Regions from separate parts of the Homo sapiens genome. Here region 2 is linked to region 1. Evidence: promoter capture Hi-C in human tissues and cell types (Jung and others, 2019). All regions are on one chromosome and are shown on one strand. Each heading gives the region's core, a stretch centred on a gene start or on the middle of the fragment in contact. The rest is flanking DNA. Distances are from core to core; before and after follow the strand shown. Region 1 holds the start of RGS9 (regulator of G protein signaling 9). Region 2 overlaps LOC105371864 (a long non-coding RNA gene).

Region 1 (6,828 bases), core at 1,173-3,672:
TCCTATCATGTGGGGAACTGGCCTCTGGTCCAATGAGCAAAGATGGGTCCCACAAAATGTAGTTGCTTGGAGAGCAGGGCCTGACAGAAGGGGTGGGGAGGAGAGTGGCAGGCACTGAGGCCTCTCCTATTCTATTAATGAGCAAAGTGCCTTTTATTTTTGCCTCTCTTTGCTCCTGAATAATTTTTCTCATCCTTCATTTTAGGAAAGCCACTTATCTTCTTGATGCTTAGGGTTTCTAGAGACAAGGGATGTTGAAGCTGGAAGGAACTTCATAGCTCATCTTGGTCAGATCCCAGCATGTGCTCTGTATAACACTAGGCTCAAAAGATGCTTCATGAGAAAAAAAATCAAGATATTCCAGCATTTTCTTTGGATTTAAACTCACACCAGGCTCAAAAGATGCTTCATGAGAAAAAAAATCAAGATATTCCAGCATTTTCTTTGGATCTCAGCTCACACCAGGAGCATACTTCTCAGTGGTTCAATTTGCTTGGCAGGATCTCTGGTCTTCTGCTTGGATGGATCTCTGCAGGGTCCAGCGTCCTCTAAATTGGAGGCTCTGAATCAGGGATTCCTGAAAAGGCACAAGAGAGGCCCAAGCATGAACCTCTTGAAATTGTTTGCAAACTTCAGTCAGTGTTGTGTACATGTGCATGTGTGTGTGTTCCTGAGTGTCCATAGCTTTCATCAGATTCTTACAGGTAAATATCACCCGAGAGAATGGATAAGAACCACTGCTTTTTTTTTTTTTTGAGACAGAGTCTCACTCTGTCACCCAGGCTGGAATGCAGTGGCTCAGTCTTGGCTCACTGCAGCCTCTGGGTTCAAGTGATTCTTGTGCCTCAGCCTCCTGAGTAGCTGGGATTACAGGTTGCTCCACCATGCTGATTGATTTCTGTATTTTTAATAGAGATAGGGTTTTGCCATGTTGGCCAGGCTGGTCTTGAACTCCTGACTTCAAGTGATTCACCCGCTTGGGCCTCCCAAAGTGCTGGAATTATAGGCGTGAGCCATCACACCCAGCCAAGAACCACTGCTTTAAAGGGACATTGGTTGACTGTGCCTTCCTAAGGTAAAGGCCTTCTTGTTTTCTTCCAACTTAAACATTTTATCTGCTACACTCAATAACCATCGAGTATGTTTAAGAGAAAGTGCTTTATATAACAAAGCAGAAAGGCTCTTGATAATAACTTAGAGGCTTCATCCTTGCATTTTTCTCAAGATGAAAACGCTAACATAATGAGCTGTCAAGGTAGGTTCATCAATTGTAACAAATGGGCCACTCCAGTGGAGGATGTTGATCATGGGGGACGCTGTGCGTGCGTGGGGAGAGGGGATATATGACGTGTCCCTATACCTTCCGCTCAATTGTGCTGTGAACCTAAAACTGCTCTAAGAAATAAAGTCTATTAAAACAAGCAAACCAGCCAGCTGCAGTGGCTCACTCCTGTAATTCCAGCACTTTGGGAGGCCGAGGTGGGTAGATCGATTGAGCCCAGGAGTTTGTGAAACTCCCTCTCCACAAACAATTTTTGTAAAAATTAGCGGGGTGTGGTGGCACGTGCCTGTAGCCCCAGCTACTGGGGAGGCTGAGGTGGGAGGATTGTTTGAGCCTGGGAGGTTGTAGCTGCAATGAGCCATGATTACGCCACTGCACTCCAGCCTGGGTGACAGAGCAAGACCCTGTCTCAAAAAAAAAGTTAAACAACAACAAACCCAACAACCAACTAACCGAAACACTAAGAATCAGAGAAGTAAAATATAATTCGCTTCATCCAGACAGCTAGCCCGGTGAGGACTACAACCTTCCTCTCTTCCTTCTTCACTTCTTTGCTCTCTCTTTTTAAACCCACATCTTAGCAATTCCTCTGCTATTGGGTCATTAAATCGCCACCTCTAATTTTTTTTTCTAAGCATTTATTGAGGGCCAAGCACTGTGTTACACATCTCCTCATTAAAATGGTATAGCAACCTTTTCTGGTCGATATTATGATCCCATTTTTCAATTTTTACTTTTGAGTGAAGGACATTGATTCTTAGAGATTGTAAGGAACTTGCCCAAGGCTGCCGGCTGGTTAGTGGCAGAGCTGGGATGGGAAAGTCCGTATTTTCCACCGCGCTGTATTAGTGAGGGCTCTTTGTGTCACTTCTGTGCATAACTCCGCCCCAAGTTAAAAGGCTCGCTGCTCTCGACAGGTCCTCCTCCTCCTCCCGCTAGGTCCTCCTCCTCCTCCCGCCAGGTCCTCCTCCTCCTTCTCCTCCCGGGGCCCTGCCCTGCGGGTCTCACCTGCTGCTCCGCGGGGTCCCGGCGGGGGCCGGATAGCGCCCCCTGGCGGCAGGTGGGCGCCCGCGCAGCGCATGCTAATGAGCCCGCGGCGCCGCTCGCGGATTGGCTGGCGCGGATTCCAGCTGCTTTCCAAGTCAGCGGCGCCTAGTGAGAGTCAGGGGGGCCCGGCCCGCGCCCTCCCCGCCCAGCCGCCTCCCCGTCGACGCCCAGGGCTGGGGCGAGCCAGGCTGCCTTTCGAACTTGGGGGGCTTCTCCTCTTGTCTCCCACTGGTGCTCTGGCTGTGAATCCATCCAGGGGCCAGGATGACAATCCGACACCAAGGCCAGCAGTACAGGCCGAGGATGGCATTTCTCCAAAAGGTAACCCTGGCCCCTCACCTGGACCCTGGGAGGAGGGCGGGGGACCGCATCTGCGAAGCGTCCGAGGACAAGAGGGGCAGGAGTGGAGAGCACCCCTTTGGGTCGATTTGTGCTGCTCGATTTTATTAAGTGACTTCTTTGCTGTGTGTGTCGATATTGATGGCTATAATAATTAGGTTTTCGTGTGCCCTGCCTGTAGTGGAGAATCTGAAGCCAGCGCTGATGGTCTGCGGGAGGTGAAAACAACCTGTTACTCGGGAGAGGCAGGTTCAGTTCAGGCTGTGGCAGATTTGAGACAGCCTGCTGATATTGTTGTAAGACGACCAGATGTGACATTGCCATTTTTGCCTTTTTTTTCTGATCCCAAACTGCACTATTTTAAAGTGTGTGTGTGTGTACACATAGACCATGAAAACGGGGTGATTTGTAGGATAAAGGGCCACCCCATTTACAATGCCCTGAGAGCCCTCATTTGAGTGTGTCTATCTGTGCATCTCCTGCTGTCTGCGCTGGCGGCAGAAGTCCCAACCTTTTCGCTTCCCTTGCGAATGCTTTCCCAGACAAAGTGACCGGGCACAGGGTGTGCACACAGGATGGACATGTGGGAGGTGGAATGCACCTGTGGGGTGATGTGTTTGGGGACAAAGTGGTTCATTTAGTTCTGAGCTTCTGGTATAATCACTGTCCGATGAGATCTACAGAGGATTAGGTCCCGGGTCACATCTTTGTCCTTCCTCCCACCCGTAGCCACTTTTCACAGCGTAGTGTCCATCTTCTTAGGCTTATCTTGTTGAGTAGAATTAGTTGAATGTTTTGTGACAAGCTGAGCTCTCCCTGAGCCCCTGGAGCTCAGCAAATTTGTATAGTCAGTGACCGCTGTCCTGATTTGCCCAGGACTTTCAATGCTAAAACCTGGACAGTCCTGGGGACCCCGAGACGGTCGCATTTGGTCCACCTGTTTCAAGATGCTCGTGCTCATCTTCCGGGTAGCAGAGGTGTGGGTATCATCTGTAAAGCAGACAGGCTGAATGTTGTCTCACTCAGAAAGAACCCTGAGAGCCTGTATTGCAGATACCAGTTACTAAAAGCAGAAGAAACTGCCTAAGTCGGCTATCTCAAAGCCACACATCATCTTCCAGGATTTATCCTAGGACTGTCTCCTCCCAGGCAGGACAGCTCTGGCTTGGGGGCTCAGAGGGTAATTGTCAAGAGATAAATTCAGTTTGTTTATTGAATCTCTGGCATTCTTTTCCATCATGACTCTTCTCTGGTAGATTCTCCTCTCCTTACCTTGGTCTTCTGACTAGTGTCTTGGTCTCTAGTTTCTCTCCTCCACCCCAGGCTTCCCTCCTCCTCCCCAGCCACCCCTCCTCCACCCCAGCATCCCCTCCTCCACCCCAGCATCCCCTCCTCCACCCAAACTCTCCCTCCTCCACCTTAGTCTCCCTTCCTCCACCCTAACCTCTCCCTCCTCCATTCCAGCTCCCCTCCTCCACCCCAGCTCTCCCCCCTCCACCCCACCTTTCCCTCCTCCACCCCAGGTCCTCTTCCTCCACCCTGTCTTCCCCTTCCTCTACCCCATCCTCCTCCTCCTCCCCAGCCTTCTCCTCCTCCATCCTAACTTACCTCTCCTCTACCCTAACCTCCCCCTCCTGCATCCCAGCTCCCCATCTTCCACCCCGGTCTCCCCTCCTCCATGACAGCTTTCCTACACACACTGTTTTTTTCCCCCAAATCAATGGTGACCTCCTTGACCTGAAACGCTCCACTGGCTTCCCACATTCCCAGCATAAAGTCCAACCTTCCCCTGAGCAGCCTGGTTACCCAGGATTCCGCTCCCACCATCTTCCTGGCTTTGCCTCCTGCCTGCCTTCCACACCTGCCCTCTGGGAAACAACAAAGCAGCCACAGGCACCCCTGGGCTCCTGCCTCAAACACTTCCTTCCTTTTTAGGAACCCGGTGCCCTTTCATGCCTCAGGGTCCGTCTGCTGGGAAAGTCCTTTCTCCCCCTCTCGCTTGCCAAGCTCCACTTCTCTTCCCATGCCCAGCTCAGTCACCCCTCGGCTGTGAAGGCTGGTTCTCCTAATGCCCCTGGGCAGGACAGCTCCCTTCTCTGTGCACTACAGACCTTGCCACACCTCCAGCATTGCTCTTTCCCTAGACCTTGTGCTGGCAAGGGCCCTGTCTATGTATCCTCTATATCTATGTATGTATTGGTCATGTCACAGAGCTCCTTGGAGCAGCAGACAGAATAAAGGTCTGCAGAACAGGTCTCAAGAGCCCATGCCAGGCGATCCTTAATGAAGAACCAGCTACATTCGATGTTCAGCTTTCTGGAGAAGGGCCTGGAACAAAAAAATGTGGACCTGGGTGCAACTGTCACTCATCACTCGTTCCATGCATGTGATGAAGTACACGGTGTCCATGATGGTGTGGAGGGGTGGGCATTATGTGCATTATCTCATCTATTTCATTAGCTGGAGGTTATGGCCACCATTTTACAGAGAAGAAAGCTGAGGCTCAGAGAGGCTAAGCGGCTTGCCAGTCACGCAGCACTAGGTGGTGAAACCAAGAAGAAATACAGGAGTGGTCGTTGTCTGTCACAAGTTGTGGTGCAATGCCCTGAGCTTTCCCATGACGTAGGGCAGAGTGTGGAGGCTGTGGGAAAGCCTGGCTCAGTGTGCTTAGGGACACAGAGCTGAGACCTGAAGGATACATAGGGTTTCCAGGCAGAAAGGGAAAGATGTTTCAGGCAGAGGGAACAGTTTACGCACAGAGGCATGGGAAAGCTAGTGGGTTTGGGGCCATGTTCTGTAATGGATGGATTTTGAAGTGCAAGGGGAGTGGGAAGCTGGAAAGGAAAGGCAGAGGTAGTGGGTGCCTATGGGCCTTCAAGACCTTTTAAAGGTTTGGTTTTATCTCATACGGAGCCACTATAGAAATTGGAATGGGCAAGTGATATGGCAGATTTGCAAATTAAGAAGATCACTGGTGGGCCAGTTGCAGTGGCTCATGCCTGTAATCCCAGCAGTTTGGGAGGCCAAGGTAGGTGGATCATCTGAGATCAGGAGTTTGAGACCAGCCTGGCCAACATGGCAAAACCCTCTGACTATTAAAAATATAAAAATTAGCAGGGCGTGGTGGTGAGCACCTGTAATCCCAGCTACTTGGGAGGCTGAGGCAGGAGAATTGCTTGAACCCGGGAGGTGGAGGTTGCAGTAACTGAGTTCACAAGTTCTTGCCACTACACTACACTCTAGCCTGTGTGACAGAGAGAGACTCTGTCTAAAAAAAAAAAAAGGACCACTGGTGTGAGCCAGAGGAATGGGTGGAATGCCTTCTCCCTGAACTAAGAGAGTTCACTCAGGATCCTCCTGTGCCCCTGCAGCTCCAACCTCTTGAGAAATGACAACTGTCATGGGGCCATGGAGAGCCATACTGGTCAGAAAGGACCGTGTGCGATTCCCGAGGTTCTCACACCCATGCCTCCATCTCAGTCTCAATGCAGCTGTGGGTCGGGATGCCCGCCGGCCATGCTGCTTCCCACCTCTGATGCCTGGGCTCGTTTCAGATGTGGTAGAAAGAGGCAGAAGGCCCATCTGTTCATGGCTTTGCTGGGGAATTAGCTGATGGCACACAGTGGACAGATGAACACAGGTGGGTGGCCTCCTGTGGTTCCAGCACCCATGGACTCTTGTTCTGGGGATGGCCCATTCCCCTCTGCAATTACCAGATCACCATCCCAGCCAGTACCACCACCGCCCTTGGGATTCACCATGGGCGAATTTCTTGGACTTTCTTGGAGAAGCCTTCTGGTGACAGCTTTGTTTTCCTGTGCGGCTTCTGGCATCTCTTTTTGCCTGAGAAAGGAATGCAGAAGCAGAAATATTGAGGATATCCAGGCCGAGTTTGGTATCTCTTGCTTGTAACATTCTTTCATTCAATACAGACATATAATTGGGTACTTATGGGCTAGATGCTGTGCCAGGTGCTGGGAGCACCAAGGAGCTTAGAGTCTAGTGGAGAAAGACAGATGTATAAACAAGGAGACAAGAAGTGTTCCATAGGCTGTGGCAGACATTGTTGGAGGATACATGTGACACCAAGCAGGGAGTGGTCAGTTCTACCTGGGGTCAGGGGGGATCAGGACAGATTTTACAAGGGGGCTTGCAATGGA
Region 2 (6,925 bases), core at 281-2,780, 55 kb before region 1:
ATTGAGATAGTGTCTCACAGTGTTGCCCTGGCTGATCTCAAACTCCTAGGCTGAAGTGATCCTCCTGCCGCAGCCTCCCAAAGTGCTGGGATTACAGGCCTGAGCGGCTGCACCCAGCCCTGAACCTCATTTTAACCTGATTACTTCTGTAAAGACCTTCCTTCCAAATAAGGCCCATTCTGAAGCAGTGGGCGTCAGGACTTCAGCATATCCTTCTGTGAGTGTGGGAGGGGGTCACAATTCAACCCGTAACACCAGTCTTAATAAAACTTTTTTTTTTTTTTTTTTTGAAACGGGGTCACGCTCTGTCCCCCAGGCGCGATCTCGGCTCACTGCAAGCTCCACCTTCCGGGCTCACGCCGTTCTCCTGCCTCAGCCTCCCGAGTAGCTGAGACTACAGGCGCCCACCATCACGCCCGGCTAATTTTTTTGTATTTTTAGTAGAGACTGGTTCACCGTGTTAGCCAGGATGGCCTCGATCTCCTGACCTCGTGATCCGCCTGCCTCGGCCTCCCAAAGTGCTGGGATTACAGGCATGAGCCACCGCACCCGGCCAATAAAACTATTCTTGGCAAGACCTGCAGCAACGTAAAACTGTGGCCAAAAGTATGAACTGTGCAGCTAGAAGGACTTGGTTTGACACCAAATCCAAACCTCTTGCCAGTTTTCTGAACCTGGCACATCACTGCAACCTCGGCCTTCTGGGTGTCCTCTAAGATAAGGACAATAGTGCTTCCCTCATAGTGCTTGTAGAAAGGGGTCACTACTGATATATCTAGCTATCTAGCACCTAGAATGCCAGGATCAATAAATATTTTATTAAATAAATATATATATTTATATCCTTACTTTTTTTTTTTTTAAGAGATAAGATCTCACTCTCTTACCTGGGCTAGAGTGCAGTGGTGTGATTATGGCTTACTGTAGCCCTGTAGCCTCAACCTCTTGGGCTCAAGTGATCCTCCTGTCTCAGCTTCTCGAGTAGCTGGGACTGCAGGTGTGTGATACCCTGCCCAGCTAATTTTTAAATTTTATTGTAGAGGTGGAATCTCACTATGTTGCTGAGCTTAGTCTTGAACTCCTGGCCTCAAGTGAACCTTCTGCCTCAGCCTCCCAAAGCACTAGAATTACAGGTGTGAGCCACCACATCTGGCCTAGTCCTTTCCTTAAGAGGCACTCTATGGGCAGAAAAGACAATACAGACCTAAACAAGAAATTATAATATATCATGATGTCATAAATAATGGAAATACCAACAAAATACAGTAGAAGCAGAAAGGAAGGCCTGGGGGACTTCCCAGAGGAGGCAACATCTGGAGAAGGGTTTTAAAGGTTAAGCAAGAGTTTGGCAGGCATAGGCATGGAGGTGGAAAACAATAGGGCCCCTTCCGGGCATCATAAGCAATCTGGCATTATAGGACTATAAAGCGCAAGAGAAGGAGAGGTGGGAGATGAAGTGGAAAGAGCAAGCAGGAAACAGATCATAAGTGGCTTCAGGTGCTCTTCAAAGAAGCACAGGCTTTATTTGTCTCCTGTGGGTGACGAGGAGGCATTTCAAGGCTTGGAAATATCAATCAAGTCCCAGAAGAAATGGATAACACACTGAATCTGGGCAACCAAGGAGAGTTTAATAAACGGACCATGAATAAAGACTTGAGAAGGGCTGGGCAAGGTGGTTCATGCCTGTAATTCTAACTTTGGAAGGCCAAGGTGGGAGGATTGCTTGAGCCCTGGAGTTCAAGACCAGCCTGGGAAACATAGTGAGACCCTCATCTCTAAAAATTAAAAAGAAACAAAAACAAAAACAAAAAAACTCAGCTGGGTGTTGTGGTACACACCTGTTGTCCCAGCTACTTGGGAGGCTGAGTTGGAAGGATCACTTGAACCCAGGGGTCGAGGCTACGGTGAGCCATGATTGTGCAACTGTACTCTAGCCTGGGCAAGAGTGAGATCCTGTCTCAAAAAAAAAAGTTGGGGGGGTGGTGCGCGGGGGGATTGAGACGTGATTAGGGAAACAACAAAGGGCGGCGCAGTGCCCCAGCAGAACCACAGCAGGGAACTCTTACTGCATCTAGGCTGGAAGCAGCAAGTGAAAAGAGTGAGAACCAGAATCCCGTAGCTGTAGGAGTGGCCACCTCATGGACATGGGCTTTGGTAGAGGAAGGCAGCTACCAATAACCCTAGGAGCTCAGTGGTTAGATGCGCCAACCTCTTCCCACCCTCCAGTCTTCCTGACCCAGTTGGAAGTCCAAGAGCAAAGAAGTCCAGGTGACAGGGTCTATAGAAACCAGCTACTAGGACATCAGGATGGAAGGGTGGAGATGGAGAGGACATCCGGAGAAGCAAAGGAAAGCTGTCCAGCTCAGAGGTCTGCTGGTGGCTTGGCGGAGGCTGGGTGTAGGGAATTGGTGATAGCCTGACAAGAGAAGCTTTGATTCTGAACTCAAGCCTCTGAGAAGGTTTGGAAAGGCAAGGATGGAGCTACAAGAAATTTAGGAGGGAGAATTGACCACATAATTATAGAAGATGAGTGAAAAGGAAGAGCCTGGAAGTCTAGAAGTTTAGGGTTTGGGTAAAGGCATGAGTGTTGATGCTGTCAACTCAGGAAGAGAAATCAAGAGAAAGAGAAGGTTTTCATTTTGCTCAAGGGCATGGAGGCGAAGGTAGGGGAGAGTGTGATGCTAATAAGCTCAGTTTGGGACTTGTTGAGGAGCCAGAGAGACATCCTAATCAAGATGTCCCCAGGCAGTTGGCAATGTAGGTCTACAACTGTACTGTCCAATACAGTAGCCACTAGCCACTTGTAGCTATTGATTTTTTTAATTTTTAATTTTTTTGTTTTCTTTGAGATGGAGTCTTGTTCTGTCTCCCAGGCTGGAATGCAGTGATGCAATCTCGGCTCACTGCAACCTCTGCCTCCCGGGTTCAAGCAATTCTCCTGCCTCAGTCTCCTGAGTAGCCGGGATCACAGGCACCCACCACCGCACCCAGCTAATTTTTGTATTTTTAGTACAGATGAGGTTTCACCAGGTTGGCCAGGGTGGTCTCGAACTCCTGACTTTGTGATCCACCTGCCTCAGCCTCCCAAAGTGTTGGGATTACAGGCTTGAGCCGGCCCTGTAGCTATTAAAATTAAAATTAAATAACATCTAAAACTCAGTTCCTTAAACACACTAGCCACATTCCTTTTCTCTTTCTCTTTTTTTTTAATATATAGAGATGAGGTCTCACTATGTTGCCCAGGCTGGTCTCTACTCCCGGGCTCTCACTTCAACCTCCCAAAGTGCTGGAATTATAGGTGTGAGTCACCATGCCTGGCCATTAACCACATTTTAAGTGCCCAGTAGCCACATGTGGCTAGTGGCTACCATATTGGACAGCCCAATTTATAGAACATTTTCATTATTACAGCAAGGTCTATTGCACAGCACTTGATTAGAAGATTGGAGAGTAGGTAGGGCTGGAAAGGAGAGACTTGGAGGTCATCAACACGTAAGGGTGGTTAACCATGATGGGATGAGTGAGGTCAGCTTGAAGAGCACGAAGAATGAGAAGACAGATGGACTAAGAGTGAACTCTTTCATGTCCTTTGCAGGGACATGGATGAAGCTGGAAACCATCATTCTCAGCAACCTGTCACAAGGACAGAAAACCAAACACCGCTTGTACTCACTCATAGGTGGGAATCGAACAATGAAAACACTTGGACACAGGGTGGGGAACATCACACACTGGGGCCTGTCATGGGGTGGGGGGCTGGAGGAGGTATAGCATTAGGAGAAATACCTAATGTAAATGACAAGTTGATGGGTGCAGCAAACCAACTTGGCACATGTATACCTATGTATCAAACCTGCATGTTGTGCACATGTACCCTAGAACTTAAAGTATTAAAAAAAAAAAAAAAGAGTGAACTCTTGCAGAACACACACATTTACTGGGCAGCTTGAGGAGCCAGCAAAGAAGACCAAGAAACAGCTATCAGATGAAGACTAAGAACTAGAATAGAGTCATGTCCCGGAAACCCAGGAAGAGCCATCAAGAAGGGAGAGGTGAGCAGTGTAAAATGTTGCAGATAGAACAGAAAAGGGGGAGCAGGCACAGTGGCCCTCTTTTGTAGAGCTGCAAATCCCAACACTTTGGGAGGCTGAGGTGACCAGATCACTTGAGCCCAGGAGTTCCAGACCAGCCTGAGCAACAGGGTAAAACCTGATCTCTACAAAAAAATAAACAACAACAACAACAACAACAAACTAGCTGGGAGTGAATGGCACACACCTGTAGTCTCAGCTAACCAGGAGGCAGAGGGAGGATCACCTGAGCCTGGGAGGTTGAGGCTGCAGTGAGCCGTGATCATGCCACTCCAGCCTGGGTGACAGAGTAAGACCCTGACTGGGGAAAAAAAAAAAAAAAAGGAATGCAGGGTGTCTCTTGCAGTTGACATTTGGCAGGACATTTGTGAAGAGAGCAGTTTAAATGAAACAGGGATGGGACCAATTCCAGATTGCCCCAGATTAGGGAGTAGATGGGAGGAGAGCAAGAGACGACCACCCACCAGAAGGGACAGAGAAGGGCCGAAAACAGATAGAGTGGTAGCAAACAGATATAAGTGATAGCTGAGGGCAGGGAAGGGAGGACCACATTTTTTTAAAAGATAGAAAAGGTGGCCGGGCACGGTGGCTCACACCTGTAATCCCAGCACTTTGGGAGGTTGAGGCAGGCGGATCACCTGAGGTCAGGAGTTCGAGAGCAGCCTGGTCAACTTGGTGAAACCCTGTATCTACCAAAAACACAAAAATTAGCCAGGCGTGGTGGCAGGCGCCTGTAGTCCCAGCTACTCGGGAGGCTGAGGCAGGAGAATTACTTGAATCCGGCAGGCAGAGGTTACAGTGAGCCAAGATTGTGCCACTGCACTCCAGTCTGGGCGACAGAGCAAGACTCTGTCTCAAAAATAAATAAATAAATAAATAAATAAATAAATAAAAATAAAGGATAGAAATGGCTTTAGCATATTTATAGATCAAAAGAATAGGGATGGGCAAGGTCAAAAAGGAGACAGGAGGAGAGCACACACAACTGGAGGGGGTGGCCTTGAAGAGGAAAGAGATACATCGCCCTCTAACAGGGGCAGATGAAGATGCATTTGTGGTGGGGGAGGTAGCAGTCAAGGCTGCCAGCTGCTTAGCTTAGCAAATGCATTGTCAGCTGCCAAGAATGAGAGGAGTGGAGGCTTGGTCAGGAGCTTGAGAAGATGGGCTAATGTGTGAGAGCCGCAGAGGGAGCTGCCAAGTTCAAGAGGGGGATGAACAGTTTGGGGACCCCAATTGGACGGTGAGCCTTGGGAGTGTCCTGATGTGATGTCACAGTTACGTTTCGTGAAACGCAACACAGATGGTCCCGTACCTGGGGGACTGGAGGGTGAATCTTCACACCAGGGTGGGAGGACCCGAAGAGTGAAGGAGATGGAATTTGAAACTCCCTGTCTAAAGAAAGAAAGTGGAACTTGTGGAATAGTAAACAAAATCCTTGCAGGTGCTCCCGTTTTCATTTCCTTTGCATATCCTGGCTCAGTCATCTTCCTGCACCCTTGCAGATGTTGCCATTCCCAGGAAAATCAGGGGCAGAGAGCAGCATGGGTGGGAACTGGAAAGTCCCTGCCGTGGAGGGTCTTGGGGGGATGCACCGGCTCCTGCTCCCCCATCTGCTGCTCACGGAAGGAGACGCCTGCCGGAAGCACAAGGAGGGGCTGGGGGTCTGGAAGGCTGAGCTTGAGTCACAGGAACACTAGGGATGCCAAGACCCCTCGGGAGGTCTTGGTGGCTGGTGTCTCTGAGGGCCATCAGCTGGTGTCTCTTTGGCCGAAGCAGCCCAGGCAGGGATTGGGAAAGGTTAGGAGTGTGGACTCCAGAACCAGCCTGCCGAGGGCGAAACTCCAGTGCTGCCACTTACCATTCAAAGCTACAGGACCCAGGCGAGTGATTTAAAGCCTCTGTGACTCAGTTTCCCCAAGTGACTTAAAGCCTCTGTGACTCAGTTTCCCCATCTCTAAAATGTGGATCATAATTGCTGCTTCCTCATAGGGATGTTTTTGTGAGAATTAAATGAATTGAAAGGTGGGGACCCCAAACACCCAGTAAAGGTGGGGTATGATCCTTTAGCTCATGGCTGAGTGCCTGCCACTGGGAATTCAGCTTGGGTTGTCTGAGTCAGAGGGGCCTGGCACTGAACCCCAGCCCTCCACCCAGACCACTCAGGACTCCCTTAAGATCCTAATGGGTGTAGAGTGTGCCTGCCTTTCCTTCCTTCCCTTCCCTTCCTTCTCTTTCTTTCTTTCCTTCCTTCCCCTTCCCCTTCCTGTTCTCCCTTCCCTCCCCCCCTTCCCCTTCCCATTTCCCCTCCCCTCCCCTCCCCTCCCCTTCCCTTCCCTTTCCTTTGCTTCCCTTCCCTTCCCTCTTTCTTTCTTTTCCTTCCTTCCTGAGACAGGGGTCTCAGTATGTTGCCCTGGCTGGTCTCAAACTCCTGAGCTCAAGCAATCCTCATGCCTTGGCCTCCCAAAGTGCTAGGATTACAAACATGAGCCACTATGCCTGTCCTACACTTTTATTTCTGATAAAGGCTAAGTGAAGACCTTAGCTTAGTCTGAGAGCCAAATGGGCCTGCCTAAAGTTAGAGTGGGGTGGACTCTCCCACCTGGTCACAGCCACGCTGGCCCCAGGCGGGGGCTGGCCTAGGGTGGAGTAATGCAGAATAGATGCTGCCTGCAGGAAGCTCAGTGCCTAAGAGGAAAGCCATTCATATTAATATGTTATATATTCATGTATTATATATAAATTTAACGGCCGGGCGCGGTGGCTCACGCCTGTAATCCCAGCACTTTGGGAGGCCAAGGTAGGCGGATCACGAGGTCAAGAGAACGAGACCATCC

The links. The method cuts DNA at HindIII sites, captures the fragments that hold promoters and counts their contacts. A contact is called where the count stands out against the background at its distance.
Region 2: a fragment that was not itself captured here is called in contact with the fragment with the promoter of RGS9 in region 1 in 1 of the 25 tissues and cell types used here (IMR-90 fibroblasts).

The regions. Positions count from the first base shown.
Region 1 is chr17:65,134,948-65,141,775 of GRCh38, forward strand. It overlaps RGS9 (regulator of G protein signaling 9), which reads left to right and starts at 2,423. Exons shown (of 19, transcript NM_003835.4): 1 at 2,423-2,650. The coding sequence starts at 2,594. RefSeq lists a silencer at 2,113-2,612. The HindIII fragment of the contact is 16,688 bases long and covers 1-6,828 here.
Region 2 is chr17:65,080,373-65,087,297 of GRCh38, forward strand. All of the region lies in intron 2 of LOC105371864 (a long non-coding RNA gene), which reads right to left. Among named protein-coding and RNA genes, the nearest start is that of GNA13, 27 kb to the left of the region's middle. The HindIII fragment of the contact is 8,211 bases long and covers 1-5,636 here.